Linked DNA regions of Homo sapiens: region 1 is linked to region 2. Evidence: promoter capture Hi-C in human tissues and cell types (Jung and others, 2019). All regions are on one chromosome and are shown on one strand. The core of a region is centred on a gene start or on the middle of the fragment in contact, and the rest is flanking DNA. Distances in the headings are between cores, read along the strand shown. Region 1 overlaps C9orf43 (chromosome 9 open reading frame 43). Region 2 holds the start of BSPRY (B-box and SPRY domain containing).

What was found. Contacts are between HindIII fragments. The study calls those that stand out against the background at their distance.
Region 1: a contact is called between a fragment that was not itself captured here and the fragment with the promoter of BSPRY in region 2, in 2 of the 25 tissues and cell types used here (mesenchymal stem cells and spleen).

What each region holds. Positions count from the first base shown.
Region 1 is chr9:113,428,691-113,431,390 of GRCh38, reverse strand. It overlaps C9orf43 (chromosome 9 open reading frame 43), which reads right to left. Exons shown (of 14, transcript NM_001278629.2): 13 at 2,428-2,491; 14 at 1,701-2,219. The coding sequence ends at 2,005. Among named protein-coding and RNA genes, the nearest start is that of C9orf43, 19 kb to the right of the region's middle. The HindIII fragment of the contact is 8,820 bases long and covers 1-2,700 here.
Region 2 is chr9:113,348,091-113,350,790 of GRCh38, reverse strand. BSPRY (B-box and SPRY domain containing) reads right to left here and starts at 1,250. Exons shown (of 6, transcript NM_017688.3): 1 at 1,011-1,250. The coding sequence starts at 1,211. RefSeq lists silencers at 903-1,182, 1,213-1,282. The HindIII fragment of the contact is 5,403 bases long and covers 1-2,700 here.

The sequences.
Region 1 (2,700 bases), core at 201-2,700, 80 kb before region 2:
GTTTCTGGAGAATGAGGTGAGAGAACAGCAGACTGGAATAATGAAAAGAGCTCTGACCTAGCACTAGGAGACCCAGATTCCAGCTTAGCCCCACTTCCCAGCTCATGAGCTCAGTCAAGACAAATCCCCTCTCTGAGCCTTGCTATCCTTACCTTTAAAATGGGACTGCAAATTAATGATCTCTACATTGTGGGGTTAAATTCTTCCTCCTTAAAATTTGTCCCAAATGATGGCTCTGGACAGTCCTAATGTTTTGCAGGACTCAGGATAAGTGTACAAAAACAGGTCTACTAACCATGTCTGAACATTTAAAAACTATAAATTAAGCTAACAAATTGTTAAATAAAACATGTTCTAACTTGCTACCTTGACCAGTATACCTTCATGATCTAGAAAGCCAGGTTCATTCAAAATCCACAGATTCCTTGAGGTTCCACACTAACATGCAGCACTAGAAGAACCAGCCCTCACTTCTCATCCCCATGATCCCATCCTTACTGGGAAAGGCAACAAATGCTGATACCCCAGTCTATCTGTCCAAGCTCTGGGCACATCCCTCTCCAAATACCCTCCTCTTACCCCCTTGAACCCAGCAGCACACACACTGGTGGGATAGTCCACTCTTGGGAGATGGACCCACAAAAGAGGCCTGCAGAAGCCATGGAAGTAGGCAAGAGGCCACTGGGCAGGGAATTCCAGGGTTCCAAATACCAGGAACAAAGTCTAAAAGGGGAGTCACAGACTCCAGCTAGGTGTACGTCCACTTGGCTCTGCAGATTTCTCTGCCGTGAGGGGCAGCACAGCCAGAACACCAGAGGACTTTCTAAAGCACGGGGCCAAGGGCCTTCCTTGCCCAGATCTAAGATACTGAATACATCAAAGTTTCATTATATTATTCTCTTTCCTTTTACGTAATTTTGAAATTTTTACATTATATCTTTTTAAGGACTAAAACATGAAAAAAAAAAAACCTCCAAAACCAAGTTAGAAGTTCTCTCAGACTCTGAAATTCTGAGCCTTTATGAGCATCACTGAAACTTTCCTGTGCAGACTCAGTTCCTTAGAAACTAGAGCTTTTTGCCGGGTGCGGTGGCTCACACCTGCAATCACGGCACTTTGGGAGGCTGAAGTGGGTGGCTCACCTGAGGTCAGGAGTTCGAGACCAGCCTGACCAACATGGAGAAACCCCCATCTCTACTAAAAATACAAAATTAGCCAGGCATGGTGGCGTATGCCTGTAATCCCAGCTACTCGGGAGGCTGAGGCAGGAGAATCGCTTGAACCCAGGAGGCGGAGGTTGCGGTGAGCCGAGATCATGCCATTGCACTCCAGCCTGGGCAACAAGAACAAAACTCCATCTCAAAAAAAAAAAGAAAGAAACTAGAGCTTTTGGCTGGGCACAGTGGTTCATGCCTGTAATCCCAGCACTTTGGGAGGCTGAGGAGGGAGGACTGCTTGAGCCTAGGAGCTTAAGACCAGCGACACAATGAACATTATTTGATAACAATGTAGATCCCATCTCCAAAAGAAACCATTTCTAGGGAATGAGAGGAAAATCTAGGGAGCATCATGGCAGCTCCCATGAGCCAAATTCAGCCTCCTACAACTGGAAACCTTTCAGAACTTCAGAGATAAGAGTGACCCAGAAAACAGATACCAAGAAACATCTTTCCCTTCCTCCTAGAAACAGAAAATAAGTCTTTTGATTGAAAAGCAGTTGTGTTTAATCACCAAAATTATTCTGACCCTAATGGAAAGGAAATAATCTAAATTTAAAAAGGCTGGGGATTTTTCTCCTACATTTATTTTAGAGGCAAGTAGAGGTGAACAAAGAAAATGGAATCCCTAAGCTCAGAGCTCAGGCCCTGGTAAAGGCTCCAGAGAGCAGAAGCCCCTCTCCTCTTGCCCTTATGTGAAACGTTGCTGCCCTCAGGATACCAGCCATCCCGCTTTGGAACACGGCTGCCCCAGGGGATGCCTTCAGTCTATTCCTCCAGAGGCTTCTCACTCTGCCCCAGAGGACTGGTCCTCCTCATCCTCATCATCAGTGTCCTGAAGAATCCTAAGTAGTTTGAGCTCAGAGTTCCAGCCTGTGCTAGCCATAATTTCTGAAAAGTTAAAGGAGATCTTCTTTTGCCTGGCAGCCTGGGCTTCTGGCACAGCGTCCACTGGAGCACTAATGTCCTTGTTAGTGGGTTCTGTTTCATACAATTCAGGACCTAAAAGAAGATGCAGTCATTAATTGCACCTGTAAACTCCTCTCAACTACAACAAATGGAGGACAGAAAAGGAAAAATGGGGTGTTTTTAGGACTTCTCTGAGATAGAGGAACTGTGCCTTCAGGGAGGTAAACTATCCTGGTCAACACAGGTTCAACTCTCCCTATCCTCAGTCACTTACTAAGGTTCCTCTACTCTAGTAACTTACTTTTTACACTGTGGTGGAAATCCGCATGGTCATAGTAGTTCATCTTTGGTCTCTCCGTGGAATCCTGAAATTCATTGGGGTATAAGGAAATTTGAATCAAGACTTTAGGAAACTAAAAGGATTTTTCTAAAAGATGCTTCTCTTGGAGAAATTAACATCTAAGATGAGCCAGAGACCCACCTCTTGGGACTGAAGAGAAGCTTTTACCACACGTTCTTTGCCCTCCATGCTGTCCAAATGAACCTAGAACCACTCCTTCCCATTCCCTGCAGT
Region 2 (2,700 bases), core at 1-2,500:
AACAGGTAGGACGAACCAGGAGCTTTTGGGTGTTGCTGAAAAACTGAACCCCTCCCGAGCCCAGCACCCTATATAAGATGTGTTTATTACAGGTCACTCTGGGTAGGCGAAGTCCCCAGCCAGAGCCCTCAGGCTTCACAGCAGGGGTGAACTGCAGAGTCGGGTTGGGAGAAACAAGCTGTTTAATCAAATTGCAAGGAAATCCCCAGGGGCCACAGAGAAGCCCAAGGTGACTTCGACTCTCCCAATCTCAGCAGCTCAGGAGAATGGTGATGACAAGGAGGTGGCCACCCTGGAGCCGAGCTGGAAGTGGAGGTGGCGAGAAAGCCTGGGTGAAGGGGAATCCCCTGATATTCTCCCTACCCCCACCGTTTATCCAGCTGAAGCCCTTAAACCAGCCTGAAGTACAGTCAAGGCCAATCCTGAAAGCGAAAAAGAGATCACCGCACCAGAAGCCAGAAGGGGTTAGGAGCAGGGGGAAGAGGCGAAAGGAGGAGGGGGGCTTTGAGTCCAGGGGTTAAGGGATACGGTCGCGCTGGATTTTATCAGTGTCAGTTTCCACAGGGGCGGGAGCTGGGGCACACCCTGCGCTGAGAACTGGAGCAGCTGAGCCTTTCATGCCAGCCCCAGCTTCCTCAACAGAGCAATGGAAGGGGCCTGGGGAGCCTGGATCCCCTTATCGCTAAGCATTTTACCCACTATCTTATTTATTTCTCACAACTCTAATAAATACGCGCTATTATTATTGTTGTTGTCCCCAAACTACAGATGAAGACACTGAGGCTCAGAGTTACGTGACTCACAGGGAGTAGATTCGAACTCAGGCCAGCCTGACTTCAGAGGCCACACCCTTAACCGCCTAGTCCTACAGCCAAAGCCACCGAGGAGCCTAGGCTCCGGGGCCGGGTGTCGAGTCCGCCCAGCCCCAGGCTCCCCAGTCCCTGCCGGGTCCCGCCAGGCGCGCCCGGGGTCTCCGGAGCCCTCGCCTTCCGGCGCCCACACCCGCTCACCCGCAGCTCCTCGGCGCGCTCCTCCGCCCGGCGGATGCGGTGCCCCCGGCAGCGACCGCCCAACCCCGCGCAGGCGGCGCACACGGGCCGTCGCTCGGAGCCGCAGAACCAGCTCAGAGCCTGGCCGTGTTCGGGGCAGAGTGGCCCCGGCCCGGGCCCGGACCCGGACCCCGGCCCCGGCTCCGCGCCCTCGGCGGACATGGCCGTGCGCCCGCCCCGTGCGCTCCACCTGTCGCAGGTGGCGGCGGGCGGGGCCTGGCTGACCCCGCCCCCGGCCCTCCCGGTGCGCCAGCGCGCCCCGCAGCTGCGCCTCCTCCCACCCAACCCGCGCTCCCATCCCGCCCGGGGCAGCAGGTCTCTTTAAATTCCTTGTTGAATGAAATCGCGATTGTATGCGTATTTGTTCTACAACAAACATAAAACTCCAAATATTACTGTGACCGTAGGAAACTTTATTGAGCACTTATTAAGTGCCAGGCTTTCGCTGAGAGCTTTGCAAGCGTTCTGTTATGTAATCCCGACCACTGCCCTTTTTGAGAGGCAGCTTTAGATGCCTAGCTTCAAGCAAGGCTCTGCTGAGAAACTGCCTGGTTCAAATCCCGTTTGGCTGCTCACTGGGTGGGAACTCCAGCTGTAAAATGGGGTGAGAGTACCTGCCTCCCAGACGTCTGAGGAGTAAATACGCTAAATACGTAAAACAATATCTGGAACATAGCAGCTGCAATCGCTAAGTGTCTACTAACAGTGCGAGGAAAGTACTATTAGGATCCCATTTTTATGGAAGTTAAGTGGCTTGCCAAGGGTCACAGTTACTAATTGGTAGCTATGAGATTGGAACCTAGGCAGTGTGACTTAAGGTTACTATAATTAATAATTTTTTAAATTGAACATTGAGGCCCAGTGAGAAATATCTGTATTAGGCTGATTTTCCCAAAGTATTTACATCCAAACTTTTTGAATTTGAATATTTGAGTTTTCTTTTTAAACTAGCATTGAAAAAAAGTAATGCCTTTTTATTTCGAAGAAAACAAAATATGCAAATAAGCATGTGGAAGAAAAATCCACCCACTCCCACCCCAGAAAGAAAAACTGCTAACATGTTCCTGAGCTGTTTAGGGCTTTTCCCACCCTCAGGATCTTATATATTAGTCTGAGCCCAGATTGAGCCCTCTGCTGGGGATCCAGTCTAGTCTGTCTGGGCATACAAGGAGAACGCTGCTCTCCAGCTCTAAATTCTTCTTCTTCTTTTTTTTTTTTATTTTTTTTTATTTTTTTGAGATAGGGTCTCACTGTGTCACCCTGGCTGGAGTGCAGTGGTGTAATCATAGCTCACTGCAGCCTCGACCTCCCCAGCTCAAGTGATCCTCCCACCTCAGCCTCCTGAGTAGCTGGGACTACAGGCACATGCCACCGTGCCCAGCTAAGTTTTGTATTTTTCGTAGAGACAGGGTTTTGCCATGTTGCCCAGGCTGATCTCAAACTCCTGGGCTCAAGCCATCTCCCCCCTTCAGCCTCCCAAAGTGCTGGGATTACAGGTGTGAGCCACCGCGCCCGGCCACCAACCCCAAATTCTTTCTTAGGAGTCTTGGCAGAAAGCTGGGCACTCTCTCAAAAGGGGAAGGGCCCAGGCCTTCAGGTGTCAGAGAGTACTCTGAGTGCATCAGAACTGAACACAGGCGGGAGCTAAACC